Linked DNA regions of Homo sapiens: region 2 is linked to region 1. Evidence: promoter capture Hi-C in human tissues and cell types (Jung and others, 2019). All regions are on one chromosome and are shown on one strand. The core of a region is centred on a gene start or on the middle of the fragment in contact, and the rest is flanking DNA. Distances in the headings are between cores, read along the strand shown.

Region 1 (6,450 bases), core at 3,798-6,297:
GGAAAAGTGGGTTCCTGTTGCTTCTACTGTGTTGGCCTTTTTTATTTAATATGCACAGATTGCAAAAAAAAAAAAAAAAAAAAAAAAAAAAGCCTAGGTCTCATTTAAAACATATCCTTTCCAATCTGTGTGACCTTGGACAAGTTACTTAACCTCTCTGAGTCTAGTTTCCTTATCACTGAAACGGGCCTACCTGGCAGGGGGTTGTGGATGAAAACGTGTTCCACGTGCTGTGGATTTCTTCATCCATGTAAGGGTCTGTCCCTGTGTGCCCAGAACATCTGGGCCTAGGGTGGCAAGAGTCTCCTGAATTCCACCAACACTGAGTCCCAGCTACAAGCAAGGGCCTGCTGGAGGCTGAGGAGTAGGATACAAGACAAACGCTGCACAGCCCAAGCCCTGCAGATCCCATCAGTGCAGAAACCCCCCAACCCTACCACCCCTCCCGAGGCCTGATCCTCTCTCTCTCGCAGCTCCCTGCTTTGCCCATACCACACACCTGGCCTCCTGCTCCCGCTCTGCTTCCCCTCAGGTTCTGCCCACGGTCTCCCTACCCACTCCTGGCTATAGATTCAACTCAGTGGTGACCTGGACGGCCCTCTTCCAGCTCACAGCAGGGAGGCGACAATTTGACCTTCTGTTAATTTTGCTGGCAGATGGAAGGACAAAGTTCTGGGATGGGGACACTTGAGCAAAGACCTGGGGGTAAGGAAGTTGTTAATTTTCAAATCAGGGCTAGATTGTAGCCTCGTCTCACCTATCTGAGCTTCCCAGGAAATCCCTGGGACAGGTGTCATTGCTGAGTCAGGATGGGCACAAGTTAGGGGAGGAATATAGAAGGAGTTGAGGTCAGAAAAGTCAACATTCAAGGTGATCACCTCCATTACCCACCTCTCCTTGGTGAGGAAACTGAGGCCCAGAGAGGCAACTTGAATACCTAAGGTCACACAGCAGATGGTGGCAAAGCCAGGCGGGACCCTCAGCCCCTTGGGTTTTGTTTCTCAGGCATTTGTCTTGTACTTCTGCTCCTAGAAATGCTTAGCACAGGGACCGGGGTTCATTTTGAGACAGAGGGAGAAGATTAAAAATAAAACGCGTGCCGGGTGTGCCTTTCTGCTCGTTCACTTTGCTTCTTTTCAGCTAAAAGAAGAGTCTCGGGCCTGGCTATTTATAACTAACCCAGATCTGCGATGGCTTGCTCAAGTGGGGGTGGGGCACACAGACCCCAGGGAAACAATCGGGGAAATCCACCCAACTGGGCGGCAGCCTGAGCGTCCGCTGGGGGTGGGGGGTGGTTGCAGAAGAGGTAGGACAGGTGGGGCACAGAGAATCAGCCAGATGGGGTGGCACCAGAGCAGGCCAGGCTCTGGGCCATCCATGGTTTAGAGACAAGCAACATATGCCCACCCCACCCCCGGGAAGTGGGAAAACTAGTGGAATAGTCAGCTGGGGACAGGTCACTACAGAACAGGTTGACATGTGTGTAGACCAGGAATTCCAGGGTCCTAGGGGCTCTGGAGGTGCACAAAGGGAGGCCCCGGGGAAGCTGGTTCTCATGGATGTGGAGGAGAGCCCAGAACAGCAGGGCTCAAATGTATGTGTTTGTGGGGAGTCCCCGATCTGGCCTGGCTGATATGTAGGGGCTAGGATGGGTTCAGTGGTTGATGAGCCAAAGAGATCCAATGGGATTGAGGGGTCACGGATGTCCATGGTGTGGAGCCCCAGTGGTGGAGTCTGGGTCATTTTCTTTGTGGTGGGGCAGGGCGGGTGCTGACACCATGTTGAGGGGCCACTCCTCAGCCAGCTGTGCCTGCTGGGTTGGGGAGGTGCTGAGTGGGCTCAGTCACCACCATGGCCCCCTTCCTCTGGCTACAGCAAAGCCCCAGCTGTTGTCTCCCAGCCAATGAGGGCTCAGGACAGAGCACCAGCACCCAGGTTCTGGTCGCAGCCACACCCTTTCCTGTTAGGGGACTGCACATCCACACATGGCATCTGGGGCCCACCTTGCCGCAGGTGACCCACCTGTCCAGCTTTAGCCTTGCATGGCCCTGTGCCCTGAACTCCTGGCCCACTGGGCCTGCCTTTGCTCCAAGGGGTGCTTCTCTGTCCTCAGCTTTCTCGGCTTCCAGGTAGCTGGGAGCATGGTTAACAGCTTCTTCCTTTACCACATGCTCTCTTCCCGTGCCTCTGGTACCCTCCATTCTCTGGTTCCTGACCACCTCCCCAACTGCTCCTCCATCTTTTTGGTAAGCACCATCTCTTCCTCCAGTGGTCCCCACCCTCTCCCCTTCTCTCATCTCCCTGGGTCCTGATAATGCCCCGCCACTGTCTCCTAACATGCTCTTGGTCTCCCTGCCATCTCACAGCCACAGCAGACCGTACACTGAACTCAGCCTCACAGACTGACTTCTGTGCTCACTCCCACTTCCTCTGGACTGACTAACTGATGTTTTTGTTATTTTATTATGTCCAGTAGGACAACTCACATTGTCTGTGGGACCACGCCTACTGTAAACAGGCAATTAAAAACTTCTCCTCCTCCTTCTCAAATTTAAAAGACTAATGTTAAAACTCTCGAGCAGTTCTTAGGCCAACGTCCCTGATCCTACTGCCCCAAGCTGGCATCTGTGCATGGGCAACGACCCTGGCCCCAGCCACACTGGTCTTCTCTGGGTTCTTCCTGGCCTCGTGCTCCTTCATGTCCTGCACCGTCCCCGCCTTGGAACTCACTTCCCTCCCACCCTATGTCACTGGCCACCTCCACGCCTGCTATGGCCTCATTCCAAGCATCTCTTCCTTTGGGAAGCTGGCCCAATGCCCAATGCTCCCCCACTCCACATGCCCCCAGAGCCCCAGTGGGTCTCCTCAGATAGCCTCACATGACTGTAAGGCCCAATCGTTGTTTGCTTTCTGCCCCTGCCCTACAGGCAGAGGGTCTGCCAGAAAAGGGCCGGTCTGAATCCTAGAACTGTGCCTACAACTATACCCTGGTGGAGGAGGCTATCTGTAAGTGACTGCTGCATGAATACAATATTGGTTTGATGCCAGGTGAGATGTCCCTCTCTTACTTTGAGGTCAAGTCAGGGAGGTGTCAGCCAGCCCCAGTGGACCCCTCCGCAGGCTAGCCTCTGCTCTGGACCACTGGAAAGGGCCATCTCACTGTTGCATGTGGGCTTACCTCTGCAAACAATTCAACTCTGACCCCCAGACTCTGCAGTGGAAACAGCCTCTGGCTATCCCAAGACATGCTAATATGCATTTCCTATAAACATTAACCCTCAGAGCCACCCTCTGACCACAGTCTGTTACATTCCCTTTTGACAGAAGAGGAAACAGAGGCTCAGCCAGGTAGCACAGCTGCCGGTCTCTGTGTGGTCCTCCTGGCAAGAGGTCCAGCCTGACACAGCCTGGTGGTGTGGAAGGCAAGCACAAAGGGTAGCTAGCCCCTCAGCCATTGGCTGAATTCCCTTGGTCCTCACTGGACACCTCCAGTGAGCACTAAGTTCGCCTCCATGATGCCCATAACAAATATACGTCCTGTTCCTGACAGTTGAGGCAGCACCCTCACAGGTGGCCCATGACCCTGCAGGTACGTAACGCAATGGTCTCCATCTCACAGAAGAGGAAACATTCCTAGGGAGGTTATGGGATGATGCTGAGATGCCACAGTGTCCAGCTGGCAAAGCCAGGCACATGCCCCTGCCCCTCCACCACAGAGCTATGATGGAGAGACCGCTCCATGGACCTCTGCCATGGTCAGGTCCAGGGCTGCTGCTCAAAGAATGGCATGATCCACACCTTACAAAGGTGTGAGGTGATAAGGAACGCGTTAGCTGGGAAGGCATTTGCACTTTGTCAGGGATGCTCTAGGATACACAAAGCTTCAGATTTACAAAGATGGAGAAGAGAGACAGGAGCATTCATGTCTTGGCCCTCTGGCTTGAGAGTCTTTTAAGCATGGAACTGAGGGACTCCTGGCCCTGAGGTCCACAGATAGGCTTTGAAATTGAAAACAGAATTTTGCAGCCTGGGTTCAGCTGCGTTTTGCTGAGGGTCTGATGCTTTCCACCAGCTTCCCAAAAGCGCCAATCAGTGGCCTTAACTGAACTGGCTCTCTCACGCTTGTCTGGGCTGGGGGCCAGCTCCTCGGTCCTTCTCCCTTCCTTCCCTCCCAAGGCCACCCTTCCGTGTGCCAGGATTGCCAGGGACGCCAAAGAGCCCCTAGACACTGGGCGGTGGCGGCGGGGGGCGGCGGCAGAGATGACTAATGCTCCCTCCCATCGCTGCACAAACCTCACCGGTGTAAATCGTTAGGGTTTGCATAGGCCTTTCACACGTTCTGAAGGATTGGTGAGACAATCCAGGAAAGCAGGTGCCACTAGCCCCACTTTGCAAACAGAAAGGCTGAGAGAGGTCAGTCGGTTGCCCAAGGACGTAGAGCTCACAAGAGGCCGAACTGGGTTTGAACCCGAGTGGAGAGAAGGCGAGCCGGGACTGGCTGCAGTAAAGAGGGCCAGGACCATGGCTGGGCTCAGGCTTGGTTTCCCGGGCTGCCAGAGGTGGCCCCTGGGGCTCGGCTACCAGGCCTCAGCGCAGCGGAGTCGGTGGAACGCCGGCGCGGGGAGCTCTTGCGGGACTGCGGCGCGCGCGGAGCTGCGACCCCGCCCCTGTCCGTCCCCATTGGGCTACTGGCCCGTCCGTCAGCTGCCTGTGCCCAATGGACAGAGGGCCGGCGCTCGTGGCGGGGCGGAGGTGCCCGGCGCGTGGTGCCCGGCGGGCGCGCGGCACCCCCCCGCCCGCGGTTGGCCTGGCAACGGGCTGCGCTCGCGGCTCCGCCCCCTGCCGGCGGCGGCGCGGCGCGGGGCGGGCGGACCCGCGGACTGGCGGCGGGCGGCGGGCGGCGGGCGGCGCGGGAGGGCGGGCGGAGGGAACCAGGCCGGCCGGAGCGTGTGCGCCGCCCGCGGTCCGGTCACGTCCCCGCGTGGGCGCCGCTGCCCGCGTCGTACGGAACGAGGGCGCCGCGGCCCCGTGCTCGCCGCCCCGCCCCGCCCCGCCCTGCCCGGAGCAGCTCGGCAGATGCTCTGTGCTGCGGCCCGGAGGTGAGTGAGCCGACCCGCGGCCGGCCGCGCGCCGCTGAGCCTCAGGGGTCGGGGGCACGGCCGGGGCATCCACCTTGCCCCCACTTGGGACTCTTCCCAGGCCTTTGTGCCCCGGATCCGCCAGGACGCAGCGTCAGGGATGCCCCTCAGGGGTGGGGGACACCAAGGGCGGGGACGCCTGCGAGGTGGGCAGGGGGCGGCCTCTGGTCGGGCAGGTGCTGGGGGAGGGATGCGCCGCCAAGCCGATGACCCCGCGGGAGGGGGCGGTTGAGGACCCGGGAGGGTGGACAGAGGGCGCCGGGGATGCCGCGCGGGGCCGCCGGGCGCCCCCAAGCAGCGGCTGATGCGGAGCCCGGGCGGGCCAGGCGAGCTGCGGGAGCGGCGCTGAGGCGGGTCTCCCTAGGGGGAGGATCAGGGAGGGGCGGCCGGAGCCGATGCAGGGCCTTGCCTGAAACCGAGGAGAGGGCCCCAGAGGCCTGGGCCCGAGGACCTGGGCCCGCAGACGGACAGCTAGCAGTTCTCGGTCACTGCTCTTGCAGCGAGCAGGTTCCTCACAGGCATTTAGAGGAAGAGATGAGTATCGACCTGCTGCGATTGTAATACGTTCCCGGCTCAATATTTTTTCCCTTAAAAGGCGGTGGGGGTGTTTGGGGGAGGGGAGTGAGGGCCTCAGGGCTGGCGCTCCGTATCCTGCGGGCGATCCGAGGGGGCTCTGCCTTTAGGGCGGTGCTGAGCCTTCCTGGGTGATGATGGCAGGATTCGGCCTAGGCCGAGAATGGGGGCTCCTGTTAACTGAGACAAGAGGATGATGCCAAGCGAGACCAGCGTTCCGCGTAGTCCGTGTTGGGGTGGAGGGACCCGCCTGGTAGAGAGGTCTGTCTTGCTTGGGGAGACAGCTGAGCCCCTGACCGGCTCCTTTCTGCCCAAGTGATTTCCCTGCCCTGGGGATTGAGCTCTCTGGAGAAGGCTCCTTGGCCAAATTCAATTAAGCAAATATTTATTGAGTGGTCACTCCCCCAGAGCTTGACGCTGGGGTGCACCGGGTGGGAGTGGACTGGGCCTGCCCTCCCAGGACTGATTGACCACCGCATAGGGGAAAACGTCTCTACTCGACCAACCCCGCTTGAGTGCAGGTGCAGGGGCCTCGGGAGGGACCTCAGAGTGGTGTCCTGGGCTGGGGGGTCAGGTGAGCTCGTGGGCAACATGACATTTGAACTGGAGCTTGAAGGACATGGGCACAGCTAAGCTGGGCATTGTGGGCAGAGAGGAGAGAATAGACCGAGGCACTTGGGCAGTTAGGTCTGATGGGAGCACTTAGCATGCCTGGGGAGTAGGAGGAGGTATGGCGGGA
Region 2 (7,106 bases), core at 4,112-6,611, 590 kb before region 1:
AAAAGTTTAAAACAAAAATTATCCATATCTCACTACTTAGAGATAACCATTATATATATTTTGACAACAAATACCCTTCTGGATTTCTGCATTTGCTCTGTCAGATGTTAGTTGAGGTGGGACAGGGAAAGGGGTTAAGGGAGGAGGCAAGGAAAGAAGGGTCAGAATGCAATTTATCTTACGAGGCGTTTTCCCATTTAGTAATACATAATCAACATCTCTGCATGTTTTCAAGTATATAAAGCTCCTTAGATCATTACTTATTCATAGTATTACAGGGATTCTATGTTTTCTCTATTATAAACTACATGTTGTTGAACTTCTTTCAAACTACATCTATTCATACAGCAAGTCATTTACTTTGTAAAAATTCCTAAACTTAAATATCTGGTTCAACACAAGTATGCAAAATTTTGTACAGATTTTATTTACCATAGAACTATGGCTACAAATTAAATGAAAATAATAGTAATAAATTATAATAATATAGGAGTCACCTCACAGATGTTTCCAGTCACAAAGTAAGGCTTTTCCTGCTTTGTACTTAAGTTGAAATCCCCCCAAAGTGCATAAAGGCGGATACATCCTTTCTAGGGTACCCTTTTCACCCTGTAGATGAACCCTGACGTGGCCAACTGATCTACCGACAGTAGTACACTCTAGATGTCTTTTATTAAAATAATAGATAATAGAGTAATCCACAAACTAGGACCTTACACACATACGCACAGAGCAAAAGCTCCTGAGGTGCAGAGCCTACAGGAAACCTCATCAAAAGCTCTGATGGCTCCTGTCGATGAGCACCTTTAGGAGGGGCTGCTGTTGTCTTAAGTCAGAACAGAGATAGTTTGTGCCTCTCCATTTTGAAATGCTCCAGATTTCCCTTCCCTGTCTTGGTCTCTCAGAGCCTAATGTCTGTGCTGGACTAGCATAGTCAGTCTTTGGTTATGTGTCTGTATTTTCTATTTAAAGTAGTCTAGGCTGGGTGCAGTGGCTCACACCTGTAATCCCAGCACTTTGGGAGGCCGAAGTGGGTGGATCACAAAGTCAGGAGTTACAGACCACCCTGACCAACATGGTGAAACCCCATCTCTACTAAAGATACAAAAAATTAGTTGGGCGTGGTGGCGAATGCCTGTAATCCCAGCTACTCAGGAGGCCGAGGCAGGAGAATCGCTTGAACCCGGGAGGTAGAGGTTGCAGTGAGCTGAGATCACACCATTGCACTCCAGCCTGGGAAACAGGGCGAGACTCCATCTCAAAAAAAAAAGAAAAAAAAAACATTAGTCGGGGTGGCGGCGGGCGCCTGTAATCCCAGCTACTCAGAAGGCTGAGGCTGGAGAATCACTGAACCCAGGAGGCAGAGGTTGCAGTGAGCTGAGATTGCACCACTGCACTCCAACCTGGGCAACAGAGGGAGACTCCGTCTAAAAAACTAAAATAAAATAAGATACTCTAAAGTAAATTATTTAAATAATTCTCATCTTAAGCAAGCAGTTTATTCAGCATGAGGTTCAAAGTAAATAACTTCAAATCAGATGGTCATGAATATAACTTCTTTAGTCATTCAAAACACTCAGATAAACAAGACGGATAACACTGAAATGAAATACAGACAATGCAGTGGATTTTCAACAATAACTACAAAAAGGACTGAACAAAGAGACAAACAATGAATGTGGGCTTGCCTAGGAAATACAGTAGAAATGTCAAAAAAAGTTAAATGAATGAGAGGGGTACTACAATCCTCCACCCCAGGAAACCACAGCAAGGTGCCGTGGATCCTCTCTGAAGCCTGACGTTCAGGTTGTTCATATTTTAGGTACCCTGGACACTTGCTCATAGGCCCTGCAAGAGGTTACAGCAGCTGTTCCCTCCCACAGGGCAAAGCCAGATCTCACAGCCACCTAGGCCTCCCCATGACAGGGAGTTGCTCCCTGGGACAAAGACCAGAATAGGAGGAGGAGGGAGAGATAAAAGGCTCAGATTTGCATAATGTGTCCCACAAATACCTAACCTTTATGCAAGAGGTGAGGAGGGCATAAAAGAGCCATTAGAGAGTCCAACACTAGCTGTGAGGCCAGTGGGCCCTTGGAACTTCAGCACCGTGGTCTAGACTCCTCTCCTCCTCCTCACTCAGTCACTGCCCAGGTTCACAGAGATTTCAGATCAGCCTTTAGAATGATTCTTCTGCCTTCTTTTGGGAGAAAGTGGGTCTAGGAAAAATAGAATGCAAATATTTTTCCAATCCATAGGGAACAATAAGAGGTATACTAGATGAAGAGTTTATGGTCAAATATTTTTTCAAAAAAAAAATCTCTCTATGATGTAATTCTGACTGATAATAGCAAAGAAAACAAGCTCCTTATTTTATATAAAAAATTTTTCTTTTTTTTTTTTTTTTTGAGATGGAGTCTTGCTCTGTCACCTAGGCTGGAGTGCAATGGCACGATCTTGGCTCACTGCAACCTCCACCTCCTGGGTTCAAGTGATTCTCCTGCCTCAACCTCCTAGGGATTACAACCTCCTAGTAGCTGGGATTACAGGCAGCCGCCACAACGCCCGGCTAATTTTTGTATTTTTAGTAGAGACAGGGTTTCACCATGTTGGTCAGGCTGGTCTCAAACTCCTGACCTCGTGATCCGCCCGCCTCGGCCTCCCAAAGTGCTGGGATTACAGGCATGAGCCAACGCGCCTGGCCTAAAAAATTTTTCAAAACAATGCAAGTTTACTACATAAAATCTGGCTTTTTTTTTTTTTTTTTTTTTTTTTAATGATGTGGTCCTGCTCTGTCATTCAGGCTGGAGTGCAGTGGCACAATCACTGCTTATTGCAGGCTTGACCTCCCAGGTTCAAGCTATCCTCCCCTACCTCAATCTCCCAAGTGGCTGGGAACATAGGTGTGTACCACCACACTTGGCTAATTTATTTATTTTCTGTACAGCCTGGATCCCCCTGTGTTGCCCAGGCTGGTCTTGAACTTCTGGGCTCAAGCTATCCTTCCTCCTCAGCCTCCTAAAATTCCGGAATTACAGGCGTGAGCCACCATGCCCGACCTAGAAGTATTTGTTTCAAGGAGCATATTTAACTACGCCGTAAAGACCAAATAGTTCAGAAGTTAGATGTTACAATTTTAGTCTCTTCTCCTACTTCTTCTTTTTTTTTTTTTTTTTTTTTTTTGAGACAGAGTCTCACTCTGTCACCCAGGCTGGAGTGCAGTGGTGCAATCTTGGCTCACTGCAATCTCTGCCTCCTGGGGGGGTCAAGCAATTCTCCTGCCTCAGCCTCCCGAGCAGCTGGGAGTACGGGCATCTGCCACCACGCCGGCTAATTTTTGTATTTTTAGTAGAGACGGTGTTTCTCCACGTTGGCCAGGCTGGTCTGGAACTCCTGAGCTCAAGTGATTTGCCCCGCCTCGGCCTCCCAAAGTGCTGGGATTACAGGTGTGAACCGCCGCGCCTGGCTGTTCTTTCACATATTTTCTCCATAGTTCAGATCACAATGTATACAAATTTTTTTCCTGCTAGTTTTCTTTCACATTACTGCAATCTATCTCTTTTAAAAAAAGTATATAGTGCAGCTATTTCAGCCAGGCACGGTGGTTCATGCCTGTAATCCCAGCACTTTGGGAGGCAGAGGCGGCTGACCACTTGGGGCCAATGAGTTTGAGACCAGCCTGGGCAATGTGGTGAAACCCCATCTCTACTAAAATTACAAAAAAATAATTAGCCGGGCGTGGGGGCCCGCGGCTGTAATCCCAGCTCCTCAGGAGGCTGAGGCAGGAGAATCTCTTGACCGCAGGAGGCGGAGGTTGCCGTGAGCCGAAATAGTGCCACTGCACTCCAGCCTGGGCGACAGAGTGAGTGAGGCTCCGCCTCAAAAAAAAACCAAACCAAAACAACAATAACGAAAAACAACAAAAAAAGTAGATTGTGCAGCTATTAAATGAAAAGTACAAAACTGTTCAGTTTCCAGGCATTTAAAATTATTTCTGGCCAGGCCTGGTGGCTCATGCCTGTAATCCCAGCACTTTGGGAGGCCGAGGTGGGCACATCACCTGAGATCAGGAGTTTGAGACTAGCCTGACCAACATGGAGATACCCTGTCTCTAACTAAAAAAAAAAAAAAAAATTATTTCTACTTTACATTTACATTAGTACAACCAAAGTATTGATGAATTATCTTACATACTCAATTTTGGATATATACATAAACATTCATTCTGTAAATTTTTATTGGATATGTTAAAAGCATCCCATGAGGCCAGCAGTGGCTCACGCCTGTAATCCCAGCATTTTGGGAGGCCAAGGCAGGTGGATCACCTGAAGTCAGGAGTTTGAGACCAGCCCGGCCTACATGGTGAAACCCTGTCTCTACTAAAAATACAAAAAATTAGCCGGGCATGGTGGCAGGTGCCTGTAGTCCCAGCTACTTGGGAGGCTGAGGCAGGAGAACTGCTTGACCCCTGGAGGCAGAGGTTGCAGTGAGCCGAGATTGCGCCATTGAACTCCAGCCTGGGCAGCAGAGTGAGACTTTGTCTCAAAAAAAAAAAAAAAAGCATCCTATGAAAAAAATGAAATTATTACCTTTTTATTCATATATTGAAATAACTTCCAAAAAGGCTTATGCCAATTGAAACTCCTTTTAATACATCCTCACTGACAGTAAACATTACAATTTATATAATATTCATCAGTACGCTACCATTGCTTTAATTCCCATTTTTGTTTTTGCTATGGAGACTAAATATTTTGCATTTATTTACCAATCAGCTATATTTATTCTTTGTGAAATGGACAGGGATTTTTTTCTTTACAACAATTTTATAATAGTGCATTAGAGATTTGTCTTAGTAATCTTTTTTTTTTTGAGATGGAGTCTGGCCCTGTCACCCAGGCTGGAGTGCAATGGTGCGATCTCAGCTCACTGCAACCTCCACCTGCTGGGTTCAAATAATTCTCCTGCCTCAGCCTCCCAAGTAGCTGGGATTACAGGTGCCCACCACCATCATGCCCAGCTAATTTTTGTATTTTTAGTAGAGATGGGGTTTCACCACATTGGCCAGGCTGGTCTCGAACTCCTGACCTTGTGATCTGCCCACCTTGGCCTCCCAAAGTGTTGGAATTACAGGCGTGAGCCAACACACCCGGCCCCCGATTTTTCTTAGTAATCTTTGGAAACACTTCAGAAATATTTTTAATTAGCCCTTTCATAATCTCAGGCTATAATTTTCCTGTTTATATGCCATAAAATGTGAACATGTTACACCGTCAAATAAAAAAAGCAAGGTGCAGAAGACTGTGCATAATATAAATCAGTTATTTAAAAAAAAGAAAAGAAAAAATAAGAAACTATCTGAAAGGCTAAAAAAAGAATCTGAGTTGTTACTTTTTCGATGTTTGAAGAATGTGAATATATTATATACTCAACATTTTAAAATAAATGAACTTTAAAAAGAATCCTCTCAAAATGGTGTCAGCCACAATGGCACACCAGAGAGTGGGAAGGCAACACAATGACCATTAACTCAGTTTTAGCTGCCTTCCTTGTATCATAAAAACTTCTAATGTTCCATTTTCCCTGTGGTAACTTCCAAGATGGCCTCCAGTGATTCCCCACCCTCTGGTATTCCTATCTGTATATGGTCCATTCCCACATAGCATCAGGGTTGCTCTGGGTGACCAAGAGTATACAACAGAGTGAAGTTATTTTACCTCCAAGGCTATTATAAAAAACATTGCAATGCCTTCCTTGTTCTCTTTTGGATCACTCATTCTGTAGGAAGCCAGCTGACATGTCATGAGGACCATATGACAAGGAACAGAGGGAGGCCTCCTGCCAATACCCAAGTGAGTTTGAAAGCCCTAGTCAAGCCTTTCACATGATATGGCCCCAGTCAACATCTTAACTGCAACCTCATGAAAGAAGCTGAGACAGCACCACTCAGTTAAGTGACCCCAAATTCCTGACCCTCGGAAACCATGAGATAACAAATAGTGGTGGTTTTAGTTGATAAGTTTGCAGTAATATATTATACAGCAATAGGTAACTAATACAGATTTTAGTACCTGGAAGGGAGGTGCTGGTGTAATACCTAAAATGTAGGAGTGGCTTTGAAACTGGGCAGTGGGCAGAAGCTAAAAAATCTTCAAGGAGATTGTCAGTGCAAGCCTTAGTAGAAAACTGGACTCTGAGAAGGCTCTGGTGTAGCTTAAAATGAAGTGAGGAACATGTTATTAGAAAATTGAGCAAGGGGTTACGTAGTTACGTAGTGGCAGAAAGTTTAGTGACTATCACCTAGTCAGGTGAAAGTAGAAAATGTACCTGAGTCATCTAATTGAGATTTCCAGCCAGAATGCTGAAAGTGCTGATTGGTTTCTTCTTGCTACTTATAGTAAAATCTGAGGGGACAGAAACAAGCTAAGGGAAGAAGTGTTAAACAAAAAAGAGCCAAGAGCCAGTACCTGCTGGTTTTGAAAATTCCCAGTCTTTCCAGATGGCAAAAGATGCTAAAATTAACTGCTCCCAAGCAAAGGTTATATCCAGGGCACTAAAGAAAGGTGCAGAAATATGAAAGATGAGGGTAAAAATCCTTTTTACTTTTTCTTTGAGACAGAGTTTCACCCAGGCTGGAGTGTAACGGCTTGATCTCAGCTCACGGCAACCTCTGCCTCCCAGGTTCAAGTGATTCTCCTGCCTCGGCCTCCCGAGTAGCTGGAGTTACAGGTGCAGGCCACCATGCCCAGCAAATTTTTTTTTTTTTTTTTTTTTTTTTTTTTTAGTAGAGACGGAGTTTCACCATGTTGGCCAGGCTGGTCTTGAACTCCTGACCTCAGGTGATCCACCAGCCTTGGATTACAAGTGTGAGCCACTGCACCCAGTCAGAGGGTAAAATCCTTTAAGGCTCTGAAAGATCAAAAATGATGCTTCAGAGTACAGTAGTCCCCTTTATCTGTGGTTTTACTTTCCATGGTTTCAGTTACCCACAGTCAATTGTGGTCCAAAAATATTAAACGGAAAATTCCAGAAATAAACAATTCATAGGTTTTAGTTTATTTATTTATTTATTTAATGACAGGGTCTTGCTCTGTCCTTCAGGCTGGAGT

Evidence for each region. Contacts are between HindIII fragments. The study calls those that stand out against the background at their distance.
Region 2: a fragment that was not itself captured here is called in contact with the fragment with the promoter of GNAZ in region 1 in 1 of the 25 tissues and cell types used here (dorsolateral prefrontal cortex).

The regions. Positions count from the first base shown.
Region 1 is chr22:23,065,472-23,071,921 of GRCh38, forward strand. It overlaps GNAZ (G protein subunit alpha z), which reads left to right and starts at 5,048. Exons shown (of 3, transcript NM_002073.4): 1 at 5,048-5,099. All of the region lies in intron 4 of RSPH14 (radial spoke head 14 homolog), which reads right to left. RefSeq lists silencers at 688-895, 4,723-4,862, 5,003-5,142 and an enhancer at 5,749-6,450. The HindIII fragment of the contact is 23,611 bases long and covers 1-6,450 here.
Region 2 is chr22:22,472,956-22,480,061 of GRCh38, forward strand. It overlaps IGL. Among named protein-coding and RNA genes, the nearest start is that of ZNF280B, 32 kb to the right of the region's middle. The HindIII fragment of the contact is 9,727 bases long and covers 499-7,106 here.